Linked DNA regions of Homo sapiens: region 2 is linked to region 1. Evidence: promoter capture Hi-C in human tissues and cell types (Jung and others, 2019). All regions are on one chromosome and are shown on one strand. The core of a region is centred on a gene start or on the middle of the fragment in contact, and the rest is flanking DNA. Distances in the headings are between cores, read along the strand shown. Region 1 holds the start of KCNS3 (potassium voltage-gated channel modifier subfamily S member 3). Region 2 has its middle 220 kb from the start of KCNS3.

Region 1 (7,127 bases), core at 1,708-4,207:
ACTCAGTTTGTCTCTCTTTCCTCCTGTAAAATACGGTGATAATAGAACCTACCATCCTAAGATTGTCATCAGGATGAAGTGAGTTCATACATGTAAAAGCTTTTAGCTTTTAGTGCCTAGTACAGCGTAACAACAAATATTAGAGATCTAGGTCAGTGCAGCTAAACAGACCAAGACCCAGATTAGCAAAATGACATGTCAAGTCAAGGAGCCATAAAGAAATAGATATCACAGCTGGAAACTGGGTCCCCACATCCTATTCTCTTCTCTATGATGTTTCTTTGTGGGTATTTCACACAGGTGGCACTCTGGAAGATGCACTTTCCTGACACCTGATAAGCAGAGTCAATAAACACACCCACCTTCTCTGCTTCAACATACCCTGCAGAGTCGTCCTTCCTCCTAGTGAGACCTCAGGCCCACCATTTCCCACTGGCCTCCCATCTGACTCAACATGCACCTGGGGGGTTCCATCTACTGCTGGCTCCCACAGCAATACTGCAGTGAAGAAAGCAAGCATCACATCCTCATGCAGTTGTTATGGGAATTAAATGAGATAATGCCTGGAAAAGTGCCTAGCAGAGTATCTGATATATAGTATGCAGCTAATAAATGTTATCTATTAAAAAATAGAAGGAAAAGGAGGAGGAAAACCCTGTGGTGCCTACTCTCTCAAAGCTGACACACATTCCAATGGCAAATGCCAGACACAGGGCAGATTGAGATGGGTGGTAGAACAGAGGGATGCACGTCTGTGAAGAATTACAGTGAAGGGCAAAACCCACTGAAGACAGGAGGGAGCTGCAGTTCCCACTCTCCCCCTTCCTTCTTAAAAGAAGATGATGATACTCAGTTGGTGCTTTGCTGGCAAACTCAAGCTCCAGAGCTTTGGATTTTTAATATTATAATATTTCAGAACAGAACAAAGACTGCTTCTGACCTCCCAATTTGCCCTCATACACTTGACCAGCAAAACCTTAGCGTAGCTGCATTCATCAATGGCTCTATTCAGGCAATTATGGGTCAGACAAAAGATTCAATTAATACTGATCCCGCAAGTCTCCTTAGTATATTCACAACATGCTTTGGATTCAGAGTTCTATGGCACCTTCATATGACCTTCTCCGGATCCCAATATTGACAATTCCTAGTTCAGAAACGACAAACATAATATTAGAACAAGAGAAGAAGGGAAGCTGGTGAGAAAGAAAGAACAGACTAGACTGGGTGCAGAAATTATATCATCCATTTGCTGTCTGTCCCCGAGTGCATCCTGGGGCCTGGCCCATGGCGGGCTGGTTGGAAATGCATACTGAACGAGTCAATCTCCTCAAGAAGGTCACCACCCAGGTAAGAAGTGGAGCCTGCACATTACACCAAGTTCAGCTAGAGAATCAAAGCCACCTCTTCGGCTCCAGATATGCAGGGAAGACAAAGCACGAGGGCATATGCCTTCAGCTAAGAGATAGGTGCGTGCTTCCTGTTTACCTGGGCAGGTATTTGCAAATAGTCTAAGAAGGGGGGCAACTAGGAGTGACTTACACAGTTCCAAGTGAATGGTTACGCAAATCGCTTGAGTAAATACAGGGAAAGAAACAGGAAAGGCTTCTGAACTGTTTGTACTCATCTGCTCCAGTATTTTCAGAGGGTAGGGTGAAAGACAAAAAACCCGAACGAAGGCTCCGGGCCAACCACAAAGCTACTCTCCGGCAGGAACGTAAGGAACACCTACCGCCCCTCCCCCCACTTCACGCCTTGGCACCAAACCAGGGCCCCTGGGTCATTTTGGCAGGTGGAGGTAGCTCTTTGCTGTCCTCTGCCCCTGCTGCGGGCCACCCGAGTGAAGCTTTCGGCTCGGTCTCCCCAGACAAAACCGGGGGGAGACATCAAGAATGCAAAAGGTGCTCCTTTCTCCAAATGAACGAGAAGGGACAGAGCGGGGTTGGGGGTGCAGGACAAGCCCTGCAATGCGAAAGGCGCCCAGCCAGGCTCGCCGCGGCCCCTGCCGGCAAGACTGGCTCGCTTGCTAGCCAAGGTGCCTCAGGAGGTCGGGCAGCCACCCAGAAAGGCGCGAAAAAAAAAAGAGGAGTTCCTGACCCCGGGGTGACCCTTCCCCACCACTGCCACTGATCCAAACGCAGAGTCCGCAAGTGACTCCACACCTGCGCTGCAAGCCTCACGCCGTCCCCACCCAGGGCGCAGCGCTGCACGAGAGCAAGGGCCCTGGGTTCGCTCTTCCCTGCAACTGTCGCGGGGCGCCTAGCACAGCTGCAGGGCAAAGGGGAGGGGAGGAATGACAAAGAAGGCGGAGCAGACGGCCCGGGAAGCATTTACAAGCGCCAGGAAAGCGCCTCCTCTCGAGGAAGGGAAGGAACGGCTTCCCGGCCAAGGAAACGCCCCGGGGATGCCCCTACGCGAGGTGCCGCCTTTCTTCGGCTCATCGATTCTCCCGCCTCCAGGTGGTCCTCCCCCTGACCATAGCCCACCCCACTCCCCGAAAGCTGATCCTAAATACCTTCCCCGAGGCTTTCAAATCAACCCAGCCACCGCTTCAACAGCCCGCAGTTCACGCAACAGGCGGAGCCTTAGGGCTCCAGCGACGGCGGGCTCTGGGGACCAGAGGATGCGGGCGCCGCGGGCCAGACGCCCAGAAGGACGGAAAGTGCTCTGCGGCCGTAGACCCTCGGGGTCGTGCACCCGCGACCTGGACCACAGGAGACTGGGGCAGCAAAAGGTGGGGGAAGGCGCGGTAAAGTTGCAGGGTCGCCCGGAGAAGTCTCCGGAGCGCGCAGGGAGGTGGGGACGCCAGCCAGGTACCTGCAGGAGTCCGGACGCATCCAGCTAGCTCCGCTCTGCGACGCCGCCTGCCCGCGCTGCAGGGATCAGGCCTCGCGGCGCGGCCCCGCGCCTGCCGCCGCGGCGGCGAGGAGAGCGGGGTGGCCCGCGTCGGCCGGTCTGTCCGTCGGTCCCGCCCCGCTAGAGCGAGGCTCCCGGGAGCTGCGGGCGGGGCGGGGCCGGACGGGACGGGGCGGGGCCCGCCGCTCGGCCGCCGCCCCATTGGTCGCAGCTCCGCCAGCCCCTCGCTTCGGGCCCGCAGCCGGGCGCCCCGGGCCGAGGGCGCGGGCGGCTGAGGACTGCGGGGCTCCGACCGCCAGACAGGCGGACAGACCCATAGACCTAGATGCTGCCCTGCCGGCCGCGCGCCCCCGCCCAGGCCCAAGTGCAGAGTCACCCCGGAGCGGCAGGCGCTGTCCGGGTGGGACCAGGAGCGCGCCCCGCGCCTCCCACCTGCGCGCCCTCCTGGGCCGGAAGCGCCGTGGCCCTGCGGGAAAAAGATGACCTCCCCCGCGGCCCCGGCGGCTGGGGCAACCGCCTTTCTAAAGTCGCGGCCCAAGCGACACTTTGCTAATTTGCCTGGATTTCCTCAGGAAATCGCGAGGCCCAAACTTGTTTTAAAACAAAGTGCGAAGGAGAGTACATATAGCTCCAGTTCCTGCCAATGTTTGCCATCGGTCCCGCTGCCTGAAGACTCAGGCACAGTGCAGAACAAGATGCTTTGTCTTATTCCTCCACTCACCGAGTCAGAAGAGGTGCTTGGACATTTGCACCAAGCAGATGCGCCTCATATGTAGAAGAGGAACCAGTCGGGTCCCCTTTCGGAAGGACGAATGGAAGAGGAAGTCAGGGGACGATGCCTTCAGCCGACGTTGAGGAACAAACCAGGACCTCGGCGAGGACAGCGTGTGGTCCAGAAGGCATCGCTGGCCTCGCTGCACTGAGCGAGAGCGCTCAGTTAACAGCCAGGAGGAGAAATGGGACGCTTCGGGACCCACCCCCGCGCTCCCCCTCCCGCCCCCAAACTGCAGATTTTTAAGTTGTGCAGACGTGGAACAATTCCTCGGAGCCAGCTGCTCCAAGCTAAGGCGCCCAGTGTTCCCTGGGTTCCTACCCGCAGCATACGCCCTGCCAGCTGCCCCCAAGCCAGCACCCGCTGACCACTCACCTCAGGCAAGCACCTAGGAAGACGATGCAGATTCAAGCTCCAGACCTTGAGCCAAGCGCTGGGGAGGGAATGGGGGCAAAGAGATGGTGGAAAACACTTTCCTGAACTTACTGAATACCCTATGTTATGTGTGGGTTTTCTAATTGTTCTTTGCTTAATGAAAAACCCACGTTGGAAATCAGAAAAAGGCAGTAATCCTCACCGTATCTTGTGGGCTTCAAAGAGGAGGTTTTCCCCTTAAAGGGAGTTTTGGTCCAGAGGAGAGGCTAACAGCAGGCAGGAAGGGCAGAGGAAAAGATAAAGCCTAGGGTGGTCTTCCCCCTGAGGCCTGGAGCCCACCAAGCTCCAACAGTTTCATTTGGCTTCTGGGAAGCAAAGTACAGATGCATGTGTCTGCAGAGCACTGTTCTGAGCCATTTGTCCCTAATTCCATGGTTCTTTGGTTCCTCCAATCTTGTCTCCTCTCCTGTGGAAGAGGATCCAAAGCATTGGTCCACACTGCTATTTACAAGTGGCTGAAGAAGGTAACTTTCTTACATAGTTCATCTTTAGCATAAGCTCTAAGATTGTTCTAAAAATATATTTACATTTTATCAACACCTTAGAAGAATGCTTCCAGATCTCTCCCAGCAGTTACCTATTTAATCATTTTAAAATCACTAAGTTTATCCAAAAAGTCCAGCATGGTTTACTTGAGAAGGAAATATGTTCAGAATCTCTAAGCACTGCAGAAGGCACCTGCAGTGCAGAAGAGTTGGCAGTGAGGTCTTTCTCCTGGGGTCTGGGCGGAACATGTGAGCAGTCGGGAAGGCACACACAGTGGGAGCCAGTAAGGGCCCCTGTGCATCTGCAGGAGCTGAGGACAGAAGGGGTGGGCCTCCACGGTGGGCATGTAGGAGTGGGCACAGAGAAGGGCCACAGATCTGAGACAGAGACAGACAGGACTTCTTACCCTGCTGAGCCCTGCAGGGAGCCACTTCGTCTTTCAGCCCTGATTTTGTCATCTGTAAGGAAATTTCCTCTCTCCCAGGGTAATCATGTGAAGCCAATGAAATAATAAAAAGGACCACATCGGATGACCCCTGAGGCAGGTCTGCTCCCCAAAAGTTTACTCTTGAATGTTGACCAAGGTTGAGCTAGGCAAAGTGGTAAATTCACACACACGGTATGTAGCCCCTTCCCCAACCCCAGTCTCCATTACCGGGGGCATGCTGTGAACTAACTGCCTCCTTTTCCCCACACACCCACTTCCTGCCCAGTCTTTATGCCTCCCGATATGACATCCCGTTCCCTCTTAATTAACTGTGCCTATAGAGAAACATCTAGATAAACCATGCATTTAATCTGTGAGGGGTCAATCATTTAATCATCGTTGACAATAATGCTCACTCCTCTGTGGTTTCAGAGGACTCCTGGAGTGGATGGAGACACATGCCACTAATGTGGGATGCATTTCAGTCTGTCTTCCAGGCCTCGTTTGGAGGTCTCCCTCTCTTACCCACCTATCACACATCCATGTCTTCCCTTCCCTCCCCAGAGCCAAACCTGTCCCCGACTTTTTATTCTCACTAAAGTTCAAATGACAGAAATCAGCTAGATTAGTACTTGCCTTAGTCCTGAAGGAAAGGGAAGTGCTCATTAGCTTCTTAAATTGGAACAGGTCTGCAGGTGAAAATGAAGATGTGCTCATCTCTGGCAGGAAGGTTGGGAGTGAGGGGTATAGTCATAATGAGCAGCGTTTATTTGGTGTGTGCCTCTCACTTGCCACTTTCTACCCAGCTGCCTGAATATCACTCCAGTTAGTCTGAGCACATGAAACACCTGCAACTCCCCAGACCCACCATGCTTTTTCTTGACTCTCTGAATGCACAGCAGTGCCTCCTCAGCTAAGAACACAGTTCCCCATCACCAAGCTTTGCTTTGCCCAACAGACCCCTTCTCCCTTAGGATGAGATTCAGTGGATAATCACATCATAATCACGACCCTCTGGGAAGCCGCCTCTCTCATCCTGGGTTGTGTGTTGTGTGTTTCCTTTCCACACTCCCTCAGCAGCCTTTGCCTCCCACTTTCATAGAATCTACCATATGGGATTTTAACTGTTTGTCTTCCACTAGACAATAAGCTCCTTGAAGACTGAATTTCCAGGAACTTCTGTTGGATCTGCATGTTTGTGAAGTGAATTACTGAAGGCTGCCCAGTTTCATCTGATCCTAGTCAAAACCTAAATCCCTTATTTCTACGCTACCTTTTGCCAGGTAAAAATAAAACATGTAAACCATCATATCGCTGTCTTTGCTTGGCTGCCAGGAAGCTCAGAACTAAATTTACATTAAATTAAATTTAGTTCTCAATCAGCTAGAATGTTTTTATTTCAGATTATTGCTACAATGATCATGCTCTTTTCACAAAATTATTGTATGCTTACTCTAACTGCCCTGTGGTATTATTTTTATATCAAAAGTTTCTTAAGGCCGGGTGCAGTGGCTCACATCTGTAATCCTAGCACTTTGGAAGGCCAAGGCGGGTAGATTGCTTGAGTCCAGGAGTTCAAGACCAGCCTTGGCAATATGGCAAAACCCTGCCTATATAACAAATACAAAAATTATCCAGGCATGGTGGTGCATGCCTGTAGTCCCAGCTAGTTGGGAGGCTGAGGCAGGAGGATTATTTGAACCTGGGATGTGGAGGTTGCAGTGAGCAGAGATGGTGCCATTGCCCTCCAGCCTGGGTGACAGAGAGAGACCCTGTCTAAAAAAAAAAGAAAAAGAAAAGAAAAAGAAAAATTCCTTAAATCTTTATGATCTTCAAGTACAAAGACTTGAATTCTGATTCAGCTCTGTCCCTGATTACCTCAGTGATATTTCCTCTTGGGCCCTACATTTGGGTTGGGACTATATCATCTTTAAGGCCCTTGCCAGGTCTAAAAGCTTTATGTTTCTATAGATAAAAGGAGACACTTTATAAATTATTAAAGAAAGAAAAAACCCTGTGACAGGCTATGTCTCCAGGCACAAAGGAATGCTGTCCTCAGGTACTCAGAATCACCCTCTGAAGGCCCTTGAGTATTGCCCAAGGTGAGTGCCACAGAACACCTGTGCCTGACCCTAGGCACGGAAAGGAAGG
Region 2 (7,127 bases), core at 2,154-4,653, 220 kb before region 1:
TGGGAAAGGTTGTCTTAAGGACTATTGTTTTGTGTTACAACGGGAAAAGCAAGGATATGTTGAAACGTTCAACTAAAGAAGGAAAAGCTGGATATATAGGAGACAATCTAAGGGTGGATTTTCCCGAAATGTCAGGGTTTGGGCTACAGAACAGCGGTGCAGGTATTGATCTTAGGAAGTAGAAGAAACACTTCTGTTGTAACAGGAATGCTGTGGGAATGATGGAACAAATGCAGATGGGTTTCGAATTTGATGGAAAGATATTATAGGGTCTCCCTTTACAGCTGGTTCCAAGTGCTCTGTGAAGTAGAAAGAAAGAGTGAGGAGAAACAAAAATAAAGTTTGAGAAAGTTACATTTTATAGTTTGCGTTAGCTAAAAAAAGGTATATCAAAACTAAAGAGTATTTGTAAAACAAAACAAGGAAGAGGAGAGGGTGCTAAGAAGGGAGGGAGAGAGGACTGAAGGGTAGGAACTTATGAATTTCCTCTGATATTTTTTATGTTGCAGATGGGAAACTTAATGGTGTTCACCAATAAGGAGATGTTATAAAATGTTGAAGATCAGTTCGTTCATGCTGTCACAAAATAGTCTTGTCAAAATATCACAACATTTTAGTGATGGAAGAGGCCTTGGATATTTCCTAGTCCAATAGGGGATAGATTGAGGAAGTCTCACAGATTGCTGACAGAAGAATTAGAATTAATAATACTTTATATGCCAATACCCAGGCTACACTGCACACCAGCCCCATGGCCAGGCCAACAAAAAAAGTCAGGGGGTCATTCCAAGCCAATTGCCAACTGTCTGAAGTGAAGTGCTGATGGTGGGGATGAAGCTGCCTGCCTGTTTCTAGGCTCAGCTCCTGACCCTTCCAGAAGGACTTCTCTCTGAATTCAGACAGGAATTCATCAAGCCACCTCTGCTTTTTTCTGCAAAAGCTCACTTCACTGTTGGGTTCAAGAAAGTCCAACAGTGATTTAGTAGAATAAGGAAGCACATTGGAGTGGGAATCTACAGCTCCCTCATTTAATGAGCTTAACTCCATGATGATAAAGAAGTAGCTGTTAACTAGCGGGGAAGCCCAAGTTCTCTTTCTTTCTCCACTCCTTTGCTAGGTAATGTGAGTCAGGTATGACTTCTCTGTGCTAATATAGTACATCTCCAGCTGCACTCTGCTGCACTGTTTGTGTCTCCAGAACGCCTCAAAGGAATGCTTTTAAAGTTGGGGCTTGCTAGTATTTTGGGTATGAATAGGAAAGTCTTCAAGTCACCATGCTTTGATATATCTTCTCATCATATTTTTTACCCCCATGTCATAAAGGCCCCAGTGTCATTTTATAGATGAAAAAATTAAACAAGTGACGCATGGTCCAGGAACACCAAAACAGCTCTGTAATGCCCCTGAGGATGCTTACAACAAAGAAAGGTTTTAAGCTAAGGCATACAATAGGGTTCATTATTTCACATAATGATACAAAGGCACTTTGGAACAAAATAAAATTGTGTTCATGGACTTTTCGGGATTTGTCATTTCCTTTTCATTTAGCATAATGGCAATAACCCAGGCTCCCATCAGCCACTATGGAAGATAGTGTCTCAATAGCCATAATGTCTGACAATGACTTCAGCACATCCAAGAACAAGTTCCCGTCATTATCTGAGAGAAGCTCTCAGACAAAGGGCAAAGCCTGGACCATTGTTACCATAGCCTAATGGGGATTCTATCTCTCTGGGAGGATGGAACATTTTGCTACCTTGCGTGTAATAATAACAGCCACACTTATTATTCTGGGGAGTGGAAGGCCTAGAATATGGAACCAACAAAAAGAAAAAGACAGTGGAAAACTAATATATCATTAACGTGCCTTTGGGAAAGCTCCTTTGGCAACTACAAAAGCATTATCCAGCACCAGTTTGCAGATAAGAATCAATTTAATTAATTTTAAATGGCTTTGCACATTGATAAAGCCAGTGACTGAAGAAAATGGAAACTTGACTCAAATAAATTCTGTGGAAAGAGCTGTTAAGAATAGCAGACAGGGCCGGGCGTGGTGGCTCACGCCTGTAATCCCAGCACTTTGGGAGGCTGAGGCAGGCAGATCAAGAGGTCAGGAGATCGAGACCATCCTGGCTAACACGGTGAAACCCCATCTCTACTAAAAATACAAAAAAAAAAAAAAAAAAAAAAAAATAGCCGGGCGTGGTGGCGGCCCCTGTAGTCCCAGCGGCTCAGGAGGCTGAGGCAGGAGAATGGCGTGAACCCGGGAGGCGGAGCTTGCAGTGAGCCGAGATCGTGCCACTGCACTCCAGCCTGGGCGACAGAGCAAGACACTGTCTCAAAAAAAAAAAAAAAAAAAAGACTAGAGTACAGAGCTCTGGAAATGTTCAACTTAACTACCCCTGTCAGTGAGTTTAGGAATGGTTGTTAGTTCCACAGTCCTTTAAGATGTAAGTATAGTAAGTATGAAAAGCAAAGACAGTTTCAAAAGACCCGAGTTCAAACCTTGGCTCTGCAATTTTTTAGTTGGGCAACTTGAGTGAGTTAATTAACATTTCTAAAGCCTCTGTCTATAATTTATGGACGATTTTCATAGCGTCCATTAATATATAATATTAGACTCTCCAAAAGCCTTTCATGAAATTCTCTTTGTCATCAATATGCTTGTGGTGAACCCTGGCTTCCTTGATTACCTGTTCAATCATCTGATCCCATAGTACCTATTCTAATGCCGATAAGCATATGGGGAATGATTAGTGGACCCACCACAAAGCTATCTGTCTAGGCTATGCACCCAAACATGGAACTTGAAGGATGTATAAGGTTCCATCTCTGGTCTTTGGGACTTTTTAGCAGTGTTCAAGAGATAAAATGTATGGACATGGTTTTCCCTTTTAATGTATTTCCATGGGTACACACCCATGGAAAGTGAAATGTCACACAGGGTCATCTGCACTTCATGCCCTGTGAATGGCACACATGCTAGTGTCGGATAAGATCAGAAGATGAGATGAGGAAAGAAGAAACTTCCTAGAGAGGAAAACTGATCTGAAAAGATGAATAGAACTCAGATTATTCCTGGCCTACTTAGACTGGAGGGACAAAATAAAATAATACGAAGACATATCTATACCTCAAGCCTAGTGCCCAGCAGATGGGAGGAGCCCAATTCTCCTGAATGAGTTCCATGTCCACTGAATTTCTAAAAACTATTCCAAACCTCCCCCATCATCAAAGAGGAATAATGGCAAAGGCCTGATCTCTGGTCTCTGGGAGTTTACAGCACTTGAGCTGCTGGCTGGGTCTGTTCTTAAGAGCCCTTGTACTGGGCCAATGCATGCCAAAACCCCCATCCTCCAGAAATCACATCCAAAAAACTTATTTGGAATTACTTTTGTACTCCTTTGCATCAAGGTCTGAGTCCTGGAAACTTTCTTACCAACCTAGGGCTTCCAGTGCCAAGAAATCAATCTTGCAGGATACAGTTCTTATGTGCTTATGTTCAGCAAGAAGCAGTTGATGAATAAAAAAAGATATTAAGACATGGTTTCCCCTTTTATGGAGTGCATAGACCAGCAGCATGAGTCAGACAAGTATACCCAGAACTATTCTAAAAGAACATATAAGCTAAATGACATGAGGGAAAGAGCATGTGCCACTGAGGCTCAGTGACGGAAGCAATCACATCACATAGCAGTGATCAGGAGAGGTTTCCTGTAGAATTGGAGATGGCATCTCTGTTTCTGTTCCCTTGTCTATAAAATGAAGATAATTGTAGTTCCTATTGTGTAGCATGTTTATAGTCATCAAATGAGTTATTCCATGTCAAAAACTAAAGATAGCTCCTGGCACATGGTAACTACTCAATAACTGTTAGCTACTTTTCGCTGCTAGCTGAGAATGAACTTGAAGGATAGGTAGTATTGTATAAATGGAAATGAAGGGTGGGGAAAGTACAATTTATAATCAAAGAAAAGGTAATATCTATCTTTCCTCAGCTGCTTATCTCATAACCAGGGAGAAAGAAATCAGAGACTGGAAAGCAGGAAAGTCAAGGGTGTGCCCAGGAAACAAAGCATTCTGTTGGGAGTGAAACAAAAGCTTCACATGGGAGAGTGGGAAATGAGACATTAAAGCAGTGTCGGGAGGGCCTTGAACGCTAGTCTGAGAATTTGCACAAATACTTGGTTCCTGCCCAAGCTTCTATTATAAGTAATAACCCAGTCATCCACATTGTCTTAATCTGGCAAGTCCTGCAGATGGACCCAATTCTGACTGTGGCATCACCTCTCAGCCATTAGATGGAACACAGTCTTTAGAGCATCAAAATGGCAAGCTTTCAGCAGAGCAAGGCAAAGTTATTGATTAGTGTTTTCTTTGTACCTTTTTTGTGTCTACTTGGGCTGAACAAATATTAGTTGAATGTGTCTGAGGACACTTACTTCAGGATCACTCAGCAAAATAAAGACCAGGCCAACTATGCAATTCAGGTGCTAGGGAAATGCTGAAAGTACACGCATTAGCCAAAAGTAGAGATGCATAGCACTTAAAACCAAACACAAAACTCCTTTTCAGAGAAACTTCCCTTTGCTGGAGAAAAATAGTAAACAGAAGACAAAGCAGCATGTCAGAGCATTAAAGAAGCGATGAGTGACCAGGGGCCAGGAGGGTAAGTTGAGTGTCGGTGCTGTCAGGGAAGACCTGGGAGTAGAGGGTGTCAGAAAAATCAGGAAGGGCACAGGCGTCAAAGAAGGCTTCATAGAGATAGAATATAGACAGGTGGAGAAAGACCAGGGAGGTAATAAATCTTAACAACCTAGTCCATTCATTTATTTATTAATGAATATCTATTGAGCACCTGCTATGTGCCAGGCACTGTCTTGGGCTTTATAACAGGAAACATAGTGAAGTCCCTGTCTTCATGGGGCTTATGTGTAAGTAGGTGAGACAGAAAATAAATGAAAAGGAAAATATATAATGTCAAACTATAGGTACTATGAATGAAAATAAAGTTGGCTTAGGGGAATAGAGGCATACTATTGATTGAGTGGTCGAGGGGCACATATTAGTCTGCTAGGACTGCCATCACAAAACACCACAGACTGAGTGGTTTAAGCAACAGAAATTTATTTTCTCACAGTTTTTAAGAGGCTGGAAGTCCAACATCAAAGGTTTATTCTAAGGCCTCTCCTTGGCTTACAGATTGCCAGCTTGTCGTGGTGTCCTCATGTGGCCTTTTCTCAATGTGCTTGCATCCCTGGCATCTGTGTGTGTCAAATTTCTCCTCCTTCTAAAGGCAACAGTCAGATCATATTAGGGTCCACACTAATAAACTCATTTGTTAAGTTTTATTTTGTTTTTAATTGACACATAATAATTATACATATTTTTGCTGTACGGTGTGATGTTTTGACACACATATATATAGCAGCTTCATTTTAACTTCATCACCGCTTTAAAGACCCTATATCCAAATACAGTCACATTCCAAAATGCTGGGGGTTAGAGCTTCAACATATGAAGTGGGAGGGCCCAATTCAATTCATAACAGGGGGGTCTTTCTGATGAAAGGGCATTTGAAGAGACTCAGATGCTGTGATGGATTAAGCCATGAAGCTATCTGGGGCAAGAGAGAACAGCTTGTACAAAGCATGCTCATCATATTCTCAAAACAGCAAATGAGGTGGGTACGGCTGGGAAATGTGAACAAAAAGAATAGCAGGACATGACAATGAAGAGGTAGCCAGGGGGCAGGTCATGTGGCTCTGAGCAGCTGCATTCAGAATTTTGGAATTTGGGAGAGAAAGATTTAGAAGGTTTTGAGGTCAGTGACATATTCTTCTTTGCATTCTAAAAGAGTGCTTTCTGGCTTCTGAGTGGGAATAAGACTGTAAGAAGCAGGAGTGTAAGCATGAAGATCAGGTAGGAGGCGGTTGTCCTGGAAAAAGAATGGTGGCTTGAACCGGGGATTACAGGGAGGTAGTAGTATTTATAGCCTATCGAATTTCCCAGTCTCTAGAGTAGGGGCTACAGTCAGCTCTGCCAGAAGACAGAGTTAGAGGCAATATCACTATCTTTCCTTTCCAGGAGAAAAAGACAAGTCAGGGGCTAACTGTAGACATCACAAATTTCAACCACAGACATCTTTCAAAAGACTGGAATCTTAAATGAACTACTCCACTCCATTATCTAAAGGCCCATTGCTGTGGAATGAATATTTTTGTCCTCACAAAATTCATATGTTGAAACTCTAATCTCCAATGTGATGGAGTTTGGAGGTGGGACTTTTGGAAGGTAATTAGATGATAAGGGTAAAGCCCTTGTGACTGGGATTATCAGCCTCATAAGAAGAGACAGGAGACAGATGGTCATTCCCCCTCTCTGCCATATGAAGATACAGCAAGAAGGCAGCCTTCTATAAACCAGGAAGAGGGTCCTCACCAGACACTGAATCTGCCAGCACCTTGAACTTGGACTTTCAACCTCTGGAAGAATCAAAAATAAATGCTGCTTGTTTAAACCACCCAGCCTATGCTATTTTTGTTATAGCAGCCCAAACAAACTAAGACACCCATTAACTTATGTAGTTAATGGTGAATCAGACAAGCAAATGCCAGCCTTCCCACTAATCTATGGAAATTCTTGATATTAAAAAGCATAGCTAAATAAAAATTTCCACAGTCAACTCTTAATTAGCCACACTAATGAAGCAGAAAGGTTGTGGATAATCCAAATACCTCATGTTTGTTACTGTTGTGTTAAATAGACTTCCCCATCCATTCAATGGATTCTCTCTCTTAACCTCTTTTGTTTATGTCAACAAGTTAAAATTGTCACTCAGCTAGGTGCAGTGGCTGTAATCCCAGCACCTTGGGAGGCCGAGGCAGTTGGATCACTTGAGGTCAGGAGTTGAAGACCCACCTGGCCAACATGGTGAAACCCTGTCTCTACTAAAAATACAAAAATCAGCTGGGCGTGATGGCAGGCACCTGTAATCCAAGCTACTCAGGAGGCTGAGGCAGGAGAATTGCTTAAACCCAGGAGGCGGAGGTTGCAGTGAACCAAGACTGCACCTCTGCACTCCAGCCTGGGCAACAGAGTGAGACTCCATCTCAAAACAAAACAAA

The links. The method cuts DNA at HindIII sites, captures the fragments that hold promoters and counts their contacts. A contact is called where the count stands out against the background at its distance.
Region 2: a contact is called between a fragment that was not itself captured here and the fragment with the promoter of KCNS3 in region 1, in 3 of the 25 tissues and cell types used here (mesendoderm cells, spleen and thymus).

Annotation. Positions count from the first base shown.
Region 1 is chr2:17,874,497-17,881,623 of GRCh38, reverse strand. KCNS3 (potassium voltage-gated channel modifier subfamily S member 3) reads right to left here and starts at 2,957. Exons shown (of 3, transcript NM_002252.5): 1 at 2,818-2,957. LOC124907737 (a long non-coding RNA gene) reads left to right here and starts at 5,062. Exons shown (of 2, transcript XR_007086226.1): 1 at 5,062-6,259. RefSeq lists silencers at 2,837-2,886, 2,977-3,176, 3,187-3,346. The HindIII fragment of the contact is 5,451 bases long and covers 974-6,424 here.
Region 2 is chr2:18,091,503-18,098,629 of GRCh38, reverse strand. No RefSeq gene overlaps it. Among named protein-coding and RNA genes, the nearest start is that of KCNS3, 220 kb to the right of the region's middle. The HindIII fragment of the contact is 6,625 bases long and covers 91-6,715 here.